Regions from separate parts of the Homo sapiens genome. Here regions 1 and 2 are each linked to region 3. The links are contacts of gene promoters, found by promoter capture Hi-C in blood cells and fetal thymus (Javierre and others, 2016). All regions are on one chromosome and are shown on one strand. Each heading gives the region's core, a stretch centred on a gene start or on the middle of the fragment in contact. The rest is flanking DNA. Distances are from core to core; before and after follow the strand shown. Region 1 has its middle 57 kb from the start of FRMD4B. Region 2 overlaps FRMD4B (FERM domain containing 4B). Region 3 holds the start of EOGT (EGF domain specific O-linked N-acetylglucosamine transferase).

Region 1 (4,573 bases), core at 5-2,504, 430 kb after region 3:
AGCCACAGTGGTTTTCTTTACTTTTTTTTCTAAGGTTAGTCAAGTGAGGCAGTGAGAGTGGAGTGGTTTTCTTTATGTACTCAAACATACCAAGCTAATTTTATTTTGGGACCCTTGTCCTTGAGGCTGTGTTTTTTCTGGAATCTTGTTCCCCAGATATGCATATGGCTAGTTTCTTCCTGCTGTTTGGGCCTCGGTTCAGATGTCTTCTCTCAGAGAAACTATCCCTGCCCACCAGAGAGTAGCCCTCCAACCATCCGTAATGACATAGCTTCTTTATTTCTTCACAGCACTTGCCACAATTTGAATTTATCTTCTTTGAACTCTTTATTGGTGTATTATTCCCCACGATATACTATAAGCTCCACATGATTGAGGACCTTGCTGCCTTGTTCTTTTCTGTGTCCCCAGAACCTACAGCAATTCCTGGCACATGGCAGCTGTTCAGTGAATATGAGCTGAATGGATAACTGAGTGGAAAAATGAACTCACGTGGATCTCCCCTAATGCCCCTGGTTGCTCCTCCTGTGTCCTCTTATATCAACAAAGGGGTATTTCCTTTCTCCCATATATTAGCAGTAAATAATGATGTAAGACATTTCTAGTCTCTTGAACAAATAGTTTAACTGCAGAAATACTTACAAAACGGATTCCAAACACATTTATGTTCTGCATTCCAGGTTTCCAAGTGGCTTAGAACAGTGAAAGTGCCACTGTCTATTCGGCCCATTTCTACTCCTAAGAGATAGCTATTAAGTTTATTTGCATAAATCCAGAAACCATTTATCCATTTACAAATCTCCAGCTATCTAATCTATCTCAGATTACACAATCTGAATGATTCACCAAAGAAGTTTCTTTTTTTTTTTTTTGAGATGGGGTCTCACTCTGTCACTCAGGCTGTGATGCAATCATAGCTTGCAGCCTTGAACTCCTGTACTCAAGCAGTCCTCCTAACTCAGCCCCCTGAGTAGCTGGAATTACAAGTGCACACCATCATGCTCAGTTAATTTTTAAATTTTTTTTAGAGATGGGATCTCACTATATTGTCCAGGCTGGTCTCAAACTCCTGGCCTCAAGTGAACCTCCTGCTTCAGCCTCCCAAAGTGCTGGGATTACAGGCATGAGCCACTATGCCCTGCCAATAAGTTTTATTCTATTGAAAAATTGTTATTTTTAAGTGAATCTGAGTTTGTTAAGAAGGCAGATTGTCAATCCCACTTCTAGAGGTTCTGATTCCACAAACCAGGGGTGGGGCCTTCATTTTCAACAAGCACTCTAGATCATTCTAACATAGGTAGTCCAAAAACCACTTATGAGAAATACTCATAAGTGAGTATTTATGAGTATTAAATACTAGGTTAAGGCAATTTAATGCCATCCTTATTTAAGATGATGCAGCCTCCCAAATACTAGGGGGCAGATGGAGCCATACGTGCACCCACTGACGTCCTATGTCATGTCCTCTTTGCCCAAGAAGAGGGCATTGCGGATCCATGTGCCTCCACTGAAGCCCTGACAACCAGACCTGCTTATGAAGCCACATAAACATTATCAGGGCAACAGCTCAAACAGGCAGTGAGGAAATGGGTTCTAGACTCTGAGTGGCTTTGGGCCAGTTTCTTCATATGCACAATGAGAAGGTGGGCCAGTGTGATGTTATGATAGAATAAGAAATCTGTTTGTTCTTCCCCAGTTCCTGGCAAAGAGCTTCTGAAATTCTTGTAACTTCGGAGTGATTGGGGTGAGAGAAGCATCTTTTGTTACTCATAATAAGCCCCTTTCAACCACATCTGAGTTTATGTTAATGAGATGGCTGGGGGATTCCAGCCCCACACAGCTTCAGGGTGGGGGCTGGTTGCCAGAGGAACCAACCATGTGATTACAGGGTTGGAAATTTCAGTCCCACCCCCTGACCCCCAGGGAGGGGAGAGGGGCTGGAGGTTGAGTTCAGTCACCAGTGGCCACAATTTACTCAATCATGCCTAACTAATGGAACCTCCATAAAAACCCTGAACAATGGGGTTTGGAGAGCCTCCTGGTGAATGCATTCACTTTTTGGGAGAGCGGCACATCCCAAACTCCACTGGCACAGAAACTCCTGCTTTTTGGACCCCTCTGGACTTTATATATACATCTCCATCTGGCTGTTTGTCTGTATCCTTTATAATATCTTTTCTAATGAACTGGTAAGTGAAGTGTTTCTCTGAGTTCTATGAGCTATTATAGCTAATTGTCAAACCTGAGCAGGAGGTCATAGGAACCCCTAATTTGTAGTTAAGTTGGTCAAAAGTGCAGAGGGCCCAGGACTTGCAATTGGCATCTGAAATGGGGTAGTCTTATGGGACTGAGCCCTTAACCTGTGAGGCCAAAACCACCTTTGCAAAATTATGACAGTAAGAGAAATCTGACACAGCCAACTCCATCTTGCTTCCAGCAACACACACTTGCTGTCCTCACTCATTCCTGGGTGTAGGCCAAGCTAACTTTCAAAGGAATTTGGTTTATAGTTTAAGCTTAAAGCAAGAATGATAATAGCCCTTCTGCAAACTAAACTGCCTTTGTAAAACTAATGAAAAGCCACAAGGTTAGGATTACAAGAGGGCCTGAATTCTGCTAAGATGTAGGCACAGTTAAAACAATAACCAGCCATTGTTCTGGAGCTCACAAGATCTGTAACTTCCCCAATTACTCCTGTAGATACATCACTATTGTAGAACCCAAGATTGGTCTTTTGAGATGTTTTTCAGACTTTTGCATTTTGATGACTAACTTCACCCATACCAGGGACTCAGCTGGACCTGTGGCCCCCACCCAGAGGCTGACAGCACACGAGGACCATTTTCCACACCCCTCTGATTTCATCTCCCATCCAATCAGCATTCCCCATTCCCTAGCCCCCTGCCCACCAAACTATCCTTGAAAAACCCTAGCGTCTTTGGGGAGACTGATTTGAGTAACAGCCCCAATCCTTCTGCTTGGCCAGCCTTGCATTAATTAAACTCTTTGTTTACTGCAATAATGCTGTCTCAGTGAATTGGGTTTATCTGTGCAGCGGGCAAGAAGAACACATTTGGGTGATTACAGTATCTGATGCTAATTTCAGGTAGATTTTGTGAAATCAAAATTGAACTGAATTGAATTGAGGACATCCAGTTGGTGTATGAGGAGTTGGAGAACTGACTGCTTAGTGTGGAAAATCCACACATTTGGTATCAGAAGTGTTGTGATTATTGACATAAAGTTGTTTTTTTCTTTCAACCACATAGTTATAAAAGTGCATTCCAGCTCTATCATTTTATGAGACTTCAACATCTCATGGATTTCTGTGTGATTAGGTTACGCCTGACTCTCACCCCATACCTTCCAAATTTTCTAGGAGGAACTTATATCATGTTTGTAATGGAAAAGAAAATAACCAAAACATTTTAAAAGATAACATTTCCCATTATTACTCAAACAGGATTTTCACAAGCTAAGATGATTGCTTCTGTTTCAGTGCTATGTTCACTACTCATCTCCACGAACATAAAGAAACAACAAAATCTCTACACACACTTATCCACCAGATTGTTTTAAACAATTTTCAAACTTGTTTTAATAGGCAAAACTGGCTCTGTAATGCTAAACTAGATGTAAATAGCCCAAGGATCCAATTTCAGCCAAAATCTCATACCACGTGGAGAAATTAAGCAATTCTTAAATATTTAATAATACCCTGTAATTTTTTAGACTCCTGGGCTCCAAAATTTCTGACAAAGTAATTCCTATGCCACAATTAATAAAAATAGACAACCTTCCAAAAAGTCTCGCAAAGCAAAAGTAAACTCCTCCGAGCACTCCCGCTGCGGTCAGAGTGATGCATACAAGTGACATACCCGCCAGAAACGACAGCAGCCAGAAAGGGTTTGGAGCTTGCCCTGAACGGGTGTCTGCTGAAAAGGCTCATAAAAAGAAGGTTGTGATTAGAAGATCATGACATTTCCAGCACCCACTTATTAGCATGTCTGGAGAATCACAGAAGGGGGACGATGCAGTCTTTATAACCAGAGTTCACGTCACAGGATATTTACAAATACTGCTATTCCAGTCTTCGGAGCAATTCGGTCTCTGCTCTAACAGCAGACAAAGAGTGCAGACACCCTAGCCAATCACTCCAGGTGGCCTCCTAAGAAAGATTCCTGCCAAACCTTGGCTGCTCAGGCCATAAACCTGTATATTCTTCCTCCGCATCATCCCACTTCTCATTCATTAAACCCCCTGCTTAAAACTCCTCAGTGACTTCTGATTTTACATAGACTAACACTTAAACTCCAGCTCCTATGTGGATTCCTATCTACCTCTGAAATCTCATTTCATGCCAGTCTTCCCTTCACTCTCAATACACCCCACATTGGCCTCCTTTTCCCACCTTACTGGGTCAAGTCCATTCTCACTGCAGGGACTTGGCACTTGCTGAGTCACTGCTTGGATTGTTATTTCTCTGGATCTTCACATAGCTGGCTCCATCTCATAATTCGAATTCAACTCGCATGACCTTCCCAGATCACTATATCCTAAATAGTATTAAGCT
Region 2 (4,966 bases), core at 751-3,250, 300 kb after region 3:
AACTGGGAAAAAGGCTGTGTGAACCATTCTTCTCCCAGCGTAGTTTTGAGAAAGAAATCTCAGGGCAGACAACAAGAAGGGTGGCCCAAATAACTGAAGGAAGTCATTCCCATTATTCCTTTTCTTTTCCTTTTTGGACAGTGTCTCGCTTTGTCACCCAGGCTGGAGTGGCACAATCTCGGTTCACTGCAACCTCCACCTCCTGGGTTTAAGTGATCCTCATGCCTCAGGTGCCTGAGTAGCTGGGATTACAGGCGCCCACCACCACGCCCAGCTAATTTTTGTATTTTTAGTAAGACGGGGTTTTGCCGTGTTGCCCAGGCTGGTCACAAACTCCTGACCTCAGGTGATCCACCCTCCTCAGCCTCCAAAGTGTTGAGATTACAGGCGTGAGCCACCACACCCGGCCTACTATTTCTTTTCTTTCCGAAGAGAAGGTCTTACAGTCTGAACCCCTTACTTACGCACTGTCTGGTTTATATTCAACTGAGCTTGGAGCTTTTCCTGAAGCCTCCCATGTGGCCAGGACCCTCTTTTCCAGTCTGCCACAAACCTTGCAGTCTGAGGGACCTCTGACACTGCAAGTCAAAGCCGCATTCCTCCTCCCTATAACATCCTTCCATGGACTGGGTGTGCCTCCTCCATCTGTGTGACTAACAAGGCTCACCTATGATCTTGTCCCCACGATCAGGCCAACGTCTTCACCCTTGGGCAAATGTACCTTGTTCGTTGCCATGTTCATGCATTTGCCCACAAAATAACTCTTGCCTAGGATGTCACCTCTCATCTCCCCTCCCATCTATTTAAAGTCTACCTTACCTGCAAGATCCAATTTTAGTTACTCGTCTGTGTGACGCCTGCTCCAGTCCTCCTTCAGTTTCCTTCTTAACACTCCCTTACTGCAGTACATTGGGATGACAGCTCCCTTTTATTGTGGGCCGGTGCTATATGCTCTGCCTACCTTACCTGATTTAATAGTATTGAATACTAGTACCCTATTACAGGTGCCTTATGTAGTACATACTATATAAGGCACTGTTATTATGTCCAGCGTACAGATGAGAAAACTTGAGTGTCAGAGATGTTAAGTAACTGTTCTAAGGTCACACAGCTAGCTATCAAGATTCTCTGATACCTGCTCCTACCTCCCTCTCAACCCTCCTCCTGTACCACTTTCCCTCTTAATCTCTGTACTCTCATCACACTGGCTTTTTTTTTTTTTGTTTGGGACAGGATCTCACTCTGTCACTTGGGCTGGAGTGCAGTGGTGAGATCATGGCTCACTGCAACCTCCACTTTCTGGGCTCATGCAATCCTCCCACCTAAGCCTCCCGAGGAGCTGGGACTACAGGTGTGCACCATCATGCCCCCTTAATGTTTTTGCATTTTTAGTAGAGATGGGGTTTCACCATGTTGCCCAGGCTGGTCTGGAATTCCTAGGCTCAAGTGATCTGACTGCCTCAGCCTCCCAAAGTGCTGGGATTAGAGGTGTGAGCCACTGTGCCCGGCCTTGTTTTTTTTCTCGCAAAAAACAAATCACAAAAGTCATGCTTAGCCCCACCTCAGGACTTTTGCACTGGTTTTTGTTTGTAATGTCTCCCCAAATTTTTGCAGAACTGGCTCTTGCTTTTCATTACATGTCACCTCCTAGATCCTGTCCTAGCCCACCCTGTCTAAAACTGAACCCAAGTTTTCTTGGTCATGGCCTTTTATGTTCTTCAATGCACTTATAATTGCTGATATTCCTTTGATTTATCTGTTTGTTTACTTGTTATGCTAGACTATAGCATTGCAATATGAGCTCCATAAAAGCAGGGGCCTTGTCTGTGTTACTCCTAGCTGAATCCTCGTGATATAGAACAACACCTGGCATTGAGTGGGCATTCAAAAAATATTTTATTTTCTATTTTTAGAGATGGGTTCTTGCTCTATTGCCTAGGCTGGTGTGCAGTGGCATGATCATAAACTCACTGTAGCCTTGAACTCCTAGGCTCATGCAATCCTCCCACCTCAGCCTCAGCCTCCTGAGTGGCTAGGACTGGAGTTGCACATCACCACACCTGGCTGATTTTTAATTTTTTTTTTTTTTTTCGTAGAGATGGGGTCTCACTATGTTGCCTAGGCTGGTCTTGAACTCCTGGCCTCATGCAATACTCCCTCCCTTGGTCTCCAAAAGTGTTAGGATCACAGGTGTGAGCCACTCTTAATGTAAATATATATATATACTTGAGACAAGGTCTCACTCTGTCGCCCAGGCTGGATGGCAGTAGTGCCATCATCATAGCTCACGGCAGCCTCAACCTCCTGGGCTCAAGTTGTCCTCCCACCTCAGCCTCCCGAGTAGCTGGGACTACAGATGTGTCACCATACCTGGCTGATTTTTTTTTTTTTTTTTTTTGTAGATATGGGGTCTCCCTATGTTACCTAGGTGGCTCTGAAACTCCTGTACTCAAGGGATCTGCCCATCTCGGCCCTCCAAAGTGCGGGGATTACAAGTGTGAACTATCACACCCGGCCAATATTTTTTCAATGAATAAATTACTCCAATATTCATGTTGTTAACCCCTATTCTATGTGACCTCTGCCTAAATTATAGTGCTTATAGCAGTTACAGTTTATACCATATAACCTAGCCATTGTATATTTATGGCTTTATGTCTTATACTGTTTGCTATGATTTCATCCACATTTGGATTCAGCCTATGTGTGTGCGTGTTCAATCACTGATTCGCAGGAGCTGGTGCTGGCTATGCATGTCGGCATTTCCCATTTCATCCAGTAGAGGACAGGTCATACAGAGCCTCTCAAATGGTAGCTGTTGAGTGATTCAGAGTGAGGTGAGAGATGTCTAGTGTACTTTCTTCTGCCTTGTTGAGCCCTCTTTGGGAAACATCCTCAGTCCAGAATCAAGTTTTCAGGTTTTTCTATTCCTCCTGATAATTCAGCTGCTTGGTTTTTGCCCAGTGCAAGTCCTGAGCCTGCTGGCATATTCTGGAGGTCCTAGGCTCACAGCCCACCCAGGCTGGGAATAATCAGAAGCCACAAGGTGTTAAAAGCAAATTAACTCCTTCTTGAGATGATTTTCCACCTGATTAAACTAAAGAACTGAAAAATATTTAAATTGGCAGCATTATGAAAAGAATGCTGGATGGTTGGCCAACATATTTTATGTCTGGAACACATCTTCTTGCATTTTAACATTTAAGGAGCTCTTTGGAAATTATCTGCAGAAAGTGGAAGGATTCCTCTGATAATGTATCGGGCTGCATAAAATGTAGGCAAATTGGGCTGCCATAAAAAAGACAGACAGATACACACAGACAAACACACACACACACACACACACACACACAGAGAGAGAGAGAGAGAGAGAGAGAGAGAGAAAAGAGCTAGTAAATCCAAACACATTTGCTTAGAGTGTTAAATTCTCATGAATTTATTTTTATTTACCTGCCTTGTTTTGGGGAGCATATATATTGTTGACAAATATATACAACATTCAACAACTTAGCATAAAAGGCAAAAGTGAAAAAAAAAAGAAAAAGATAGTTGAGAAGGCAACATAAAATGGACCTAAGTGGTAGTTTAAAAGTTCATTCCATATTAAACTATATACATGTTTTTTAGTGGGCCACAAATTTGCCTTTAAGCTCTCTTGCCACCAACACCAACACATCCACTCAGTTTCAAGATGTGAGTAAATATCTAATATTTCTACCATATAAGCTAAATTAGCAAGCACAATCACATTCAAAGACATGAGAAGATACACTGTAATCGGGAATAACAAACTCATTACTACACATTTCTAAAACATTTAGAACAATATTTTGAGTTCCTAAAATGGTCAGTATCCCTTTTCTTCTCCCTTTGCCATAATCCTAGGAGAAAAATCGCATATTAAAAAACCTTTAGCTAAGCAGGACATGTTCTGAATGCTGGAGGACTTATTTCCTTTTTTGTTAATTATGGAAGACAGCAAGTAGGTAGCCCAGGCAAAAGGTAAAGAAACTAAAACTATTAAAGGACTTACGTGTCATCTATGAATGTTATTCCAAAATACTCCTTTTCTTTCAGGTTGAAATGTGAAGCCACTAGGTCCAGCAACTCTCTTGCTAGAAGTTTGGGCTGTCAAAATAAAAATCTGGTTAGAAGCAATTTGGTTGCCTCTCTCTTACTGCTACCACCTTCCTCTGCCCTAAATAATTTAAAGTAGCTTTTGTTTATTTGTTTGTTTCTTTATTACTTGCCCTTGTTTGTGGATTAGGTTGATGTACTATAGACAATTCTTTAAGAATTGTGGGAAGGAGAAGAGATGGGAATAGGAATATCAATGAGACTATCATTTTCATGTATTTGCAATTCACTCAAGTACCTTACATTTTCCCTCTAAGGTGCACTTACTAAGATGTTTTGGAAAAAATACTCTTTTATATGTAACGTGGTGCTAATGCCCAAGACAAGGAATATTAAACACCTTGCTGCTTGGTTATCTGTGATATATAAAAGATTGCAGGAAACATTTTGCTTGTTGGTGGCCAGTTGAAGAAACCCAAGACTCAAAGCTGTGGGGCTACTGATGAAAATATTAATAATAATAATAATAATAGTTACTATTTATTATGCTGAACTTATATCCCATTGTCATTTAATCCTTATAATGAGCTATGAGGCAGGGCTTTTTATTTCCATTTTATAAATGAGTCAACCAAGGCCCAGAGTAGTTAAGCACCTTGCTTGATGTTACATTGTTAGTAAGGGCAGGGATTTGAACCTAGTCTGTCTCCTTCTAAAGCCTAAGCTTTTCCTTCCTGAGATAGAGAAATTGTACCCATTCCACACATCATCATCAACAGTAATGAGCACCTAGTTAGAAGAAGGATGTAATCTATAAGCTTTTGGGAAGCTCTGGATCTGCTGAGAAGAAGCATGGGCTTGGAACCAGCCAGAATGCCTGGAGTGATAA
Region 3 (4,929 bases), core at 112-2,611:
TTCTCACAGCAGTAATCCCACTGGCTGAATCACAGGGCTACCCACCTAGAGTGGCGAGCCTGAGGGTTCCCAGGCCTTCCTATTTTTTGACTCGTCCTTCCCGGTAATAAAGTCATTGTTATGACCAAGCCCTGACCTTTGGTTATCCAAGTCCATTGTCCTCCAGTGAGCTCTGGCCATCACTAAACTCACCGATCAGTGGAGAAGTAACGCTTAGGCGATGGAAAAAATCTAAAGACGCAGATCAGAAAGCTGGCGTCTGGCGAGGGCATGTACCCACTTGCATAAGGCGGCTGGGGGTGGCTGCTGGGCCTGGCACAAAGCCTTCCTGGTGTCGGTCGTCCTGCAAGGCCCGCCGGGATGGGTGGCTGCACTCCTCCAGCACACGGACGCTTTACTGGCCAGGCTACTTTTCCTTCAGCTCAAAGCAGCTGGAATCACTCCACTCCAGAAACCCTTGATTCGATTTCCACAGGCCTAATGAGGAAGGAAAAAAGGGAAACATCTGAAAGATGATGGATAGGAGGCAAAACCTGGGGTTGACACAGCGGGCGAAATGGGGCAATGTCGCAGAGAGAGAGAGCTTGGAAAAGTTTAAAGACGGCAGTGGGCAAATGGAAAGTTCAACACGTGAGACCCCGAATGACACCTCAACGGCTGGCCCCTACTTGTGCCAAAAAGTCTCTCGGCGGGTGCCAGGCAGGGCTCAGGAAGTGCTCGGCTGCCCCTTGAACGTCAGTCCCGGCAGAGCCCAGCTGTCCGCTTGAACGTCAGTCCCGGCCAAGGGCTGAGGGGTCAGTGGCGAGCACCCCGCCGCGGCTGAGACGCCGCGCTGGGGTTCCGGACCCCGGGCGCCGCCAGGGATTGCTTCGGGGTCGGTGATCTCCCGGGGCCGCCCGCCACCGTGCACCGCGGCGCCCCGGGTCCCCAGCGCGCCTGGGAGGGGCCCCGGGGAGCGGCTCCGCCCCGGCTGGAAACCTGGTCAACGCGGCTAGGGCCCGGGGCCCGCCTGCGCTCCGGGCGCTGGGAAGGGGCCGGGCGCCCGGGGCCGGGGAGGGCCAGGATCGGCTTCCGACGCCCGCCTCCCGGCCCGCAGGGAATGGGAAGGCGCGGGCGGAGTGCGTGCGTAGGCTATAGCCCTCCGGGAAGCCGCGCCGGGAGCGGCTACCACCCGGGCAAGAACAGCGCAGAGCGCTGCGGCGGCGGGAAGGAGAGCGGGGGAAGGCTCCGCAGATTGCGGGGGAGTCCCACCTGGAGCCGGGGCAGCCGTGAACTACCGAGGAGGAGGCGGAGGAGACGGCGGCTGTTCCAGAGGAGGGAGTCGTCATAACCGGCTACTGCCGCTCACCGGAAACCTCGGGCGCGGGAGCTGGGCCAGGGGGCGCCAAGGAGCAGCTGGGACACCTTGGCCAGCCGGCGCCGTGGGCGGGCTCGGGCCCCGCAGAGGCAGGACCGGGACTACACCCAGGAGGGCCAGGGCGCGGGGCCCGACGCTCGGAGCGGCTTCAGCCCGGCGAGCGGCCTCGACCCGGCGAGCGCAGCAGGGAGGGGCTCAGAGTCGAGGAACCATCTGCCCTTCCTGGCGTTCTCCCGCGAACGTTCGCGCGAGTCCGCCAGCTCCCTCACCAGGGCCGGAAAGACCGACGGCACGTGCCGGCGCCGGACGCCCATCTCCATCGCAGCAGCCCGCGCCTCCTTGAGCGAGAGCGTTAAAGCGCTCAGAGGATGTTAGGACGGGGTGGGTAGAAAACCTGACTCTTCGTGTCTTCTGCGTTGCACTGAGGTGGATTTTTACTTTTGTCTTATTTCAAGCAGAAGTTGCCGCCCTAACTTCCAAATTTGGGGACTGAACATCGTTCACCGAATACACTTTGTGATGGTGAGGATACTTTGGAGTCCACACACATTTTAAAAGCAGTATAGTTTTACCTATCCGTAAACTCATCAAGTTCAAATGCTACTCTGTGGAGTTTAATTTTTATGGTTTTGTTAATTTACTTTATTACTGCTTATAATTATTTGAACTCCCATCCCCCACTGTCTTTTCCTCTAAGCTCCCCCAGGCCTAGTATTCCATCTACAGCACAGTAGAGTTGATCATTAAATAGTGACTAAAGTTGAACTGATTATATGAAGGTGATGACTTCAAAATAAACATGCTCAAATGAATATAGTCACCAGAAGTTAAATAATATGATCATAAGGAAACAAGTTTGTTTCCAAAGGCTTACATGCTTTTTACGTAATTTTTAAAAGTAATGTTGTTTAAGAATTGTTACAAGTTCCATTAGTGACCTGCTAAATTAGGAATCTTACCTGGAATTTTTTTCAAATAATAACAGCAAGAACATGTGGTGTTTAACATGTGCCAAACATTGTTTTAAAGCACTTTACAGTATTAATTTATTCTTTTTATTGAAAAGATTTTGCCTCTAAGGGAACTGTCAAGAGGCATGTGAACCGGAGCAACTCCATCTTAAATAGGAGCTGAGTAAAATGAGGCTGAAACCTACTGGGCTGCATTCCCAGGCCGTTAAAGCATTCTAAGTCGCAGAATGAGATAGGAAGTCGGCACAAGATACAGGTCATAAAGACCTTGTTGATAAAACAGGTTGCAGTAAATAAGCCGGCTAAATCCCACCAAAACCAAGATGGCCATGAAAGAGACCTCTGGTAGTCCTTACTACTATACTCCTATCAGCGCCATGACAGTTTACGAATGCCATGGCAATGTCAGGAAGTTACCCTATATGGTCTTAAAAGGGGAGGCATGAATAATCCACCTGTTTAGCATATCATCAAGAAATAACCATAAAAATGGGCAACCAGCAGCACTCAGGGCTGCTTTGTCTATGGAGTAGCCATTCTTTTCTTCCTTTACTTTCTTTTTTTTTTTCCTTTACTTTCTTAACAAACTTGCTTACACTTTGCCCTGAATTCTTTCTTGCTCGAGATCCAAGAACCCTCTCTTGGGGTCTGGATTGGGACCCCTTTCCTATAACAGAATTACTGCTCTATTATTTTATACTTTGCATACTTCACCATCCCACACTAATGACAGTAATTTTTTAAAATGCTTCCTCAAGCCAGGCACTGTGGCTCATGCCAGTAGTCCCAGCTACTCAGGATGATCGCTTGAGCCCAGTGAGGTTGAGGCTGCAGTGAGCCATGATTGAGACACTGCACTCTAGCCTGGGCCACAGTGAGACCCTGTCTCATAAAAAAAAAAAAAAAAAGCTTCCTCAGCCTACTTGCTACCATCCTATTTTTGTCACATACAAAAAGGTTAAAATCAGTATGACATGTGCATGGTACTATTTTATTTTATTTTTTTTGTAGAAACAGGTTCTTGCTATGTTCCCAGCACTTGTTTCCAACTCCGGGCCTCAAGTGATCTTCCAGCCTCGGCCTCCTAAAGTGCTGGGTTTACAGTTGTGAGCCACCACGCCTGGCTATGTGGTGCTATTTTAAACACCTACATATTGAATGGTCATTCAGACTTACAGGAAACCAGATATGATAAACCTGAACATGAGATTGAGTCTCTCTTACTGTAACAGCCATTCTCAAATAGAATTTCTCTCCAAAATACCAATGTTAGAATTTAAATTTTCTTTGAGCTGACATAAAACTCAAGTGTCTACCAATAGAAGGCTGGTTGAATAAACTATGGTTTATCCATACAATGTAAAACTATGCATGCATAAAAAGGAATTGAGAAATATCTCTGTACACTACAGAATATTGAGTGGGAAAAGGATATGTAATATGTAAATATCATTTTTCTAAGAGGAATATGTGTGTATACATGTGTATACACATATATATTTACTAATTATTATTTTACAAGTAGATTAACATTTAAAATGACTATATGGGCAAGGAGGGAAGAGGAGGGGTATAAGGAACAAAGAAGACATGACTTTGTTTTTTGGTGTGTGTGTGTGTGTGTGTGTGTATGTGTGTGTGTGTGTGTGTGACAGAGTCTTACTCTTTTGCCCAGGCTGGAGTACAATGGTGCAATCTTGGCTCACTGCAACCTCCATCTCCTGGGTTCAAGCAATTCTTCTCCCTCAGACTCCTGAGTAACTGCGATTACAGGCATGCGCCACCATGCCTGACAAATATTTATATTTTTAGTAGAGACGGGGTTTCACTGTATTGGCCAGGCTGGTCTCGAACTCCTGACCTCAAGTGATCCGCCCACCTCAGCCTCCCAAACTGCTTGGATTACAGGCGTGAGCCACCACGCCTGGCGTGAAGACATGACTTTGAAGTCATGTAAATATGTTACATTATAAAGCAAAATTCTGTTTTTAAAAAGCAATCCTTGAAAGTAAAATGAAACTAAATGAACCTAAATGTTTTCCAATTGTGGCATATCACCCAGAGGAGCTATCCCAAGTGACTTTAAAACTTAATTTGTATATACTTAGTGGGATGTATTCTCAGGACTAAAGTACAAAAAAACTCTTTTGTAGACTGCATTCCGTAACCAAATTGTTGGTGGCAATATTGGTATTATGGGATACACCAAGTTGAAGTAATTATGATGGTACCTTTGAAGCTGAAATTTTTGACATGAGATAGAAATATGAAAGCTTAATCAGGCTATATAAACATCCTGTAGTTCTGAATTTCAGTTGGAGGCCTCAGTATGATTAACAGTATGGTTAATCTTTAAAAACACATCTCTCCTACGTGCTCCATTGAAAAGGCCTAGAGACAAGCTACCCAGGAGGAAGAAGCACCCCCTTGCGCTCACACTGTGATCTCTACCAACCATTTCCCATTAAAAGAAACACTGACTCCATAGAACAATGGATGATCTTGGGTCTGGAGCAGGAAATGTACAAGATAAGCCTGCAACATCTTACATCAGGAAGCAGCAAAGCAATCAAAAGGCTATTAGGGTCATATCAAAAGGAC

The links. The method cuts DNA at HindIII sites, captures the fragments that hold promoters and counts their contacts. A CHiCAGO score of 5 or more calls a contact.
Region 1: a fragment that was not itself captured here is called in contact with the fragment with the promoter of EOGT in region 3 in 1 of 17 cell types (activated CD4 T cells); the score reaches 5.3 in activated CD4 T cells.
Region 2: a contact is called between a fragment that was not itself captured here and the fragment with the promoter of EOGT in region 3, in 1 of 17 cell types (total CD4 T cells). The highest score is 6.6, in total CD4 T cells.

Annotation. Positions count from the first base shown.
Region 1 is chr3:69,441,239-69,445,811 of GRCh38, forward strand. It overlaps a transcript of FRMD4B not described here. Among named protein-coding and RNA genes, the nearest start is that of FRMD4B, 57 kb to the left of the region's middle. The HindIII fragment of the contact is 2,520 bases long and covers 1-2,514 here.
Region 2 is chr3:69,307,230-69,312,195 of GRCh38, forward strand. It overlaps FRMD4B (FERM domain containing 4B), which reads right to left. Exons shown (of 23, transcript NM_015123.3): 3 at 4,034-4,128. Among named protein-coding and RNA genes, the nearest start is that of FRMD4B, 76 kb to the right of the region's middle. The HindIII fragment of the contact is 5,597 bases long and covers 1-4,799 here.
Region 3 is chr3:69,012,323-69,017,251 of GRCh38, forward strand. EOGT (EGF domain specific O-linked N-acetylglucosamine transferase) reads right to left here and starts at 1,362. Exons shown (of 18, transcript NM_001278689.2): 1 at 1,252-1,362; 2 at 193-477. EOGT-DT (EOGT divergent transcript) reads left to right here and starts at 798. Exons shown (of 1, transcript NR_185971.1): 1 at 798-4,929. RefSeq lists silencers at 680-1,229, 1,290-1,589. The HindIII fragment of the contact is 3,596 bases long and covers 1-3,235 here.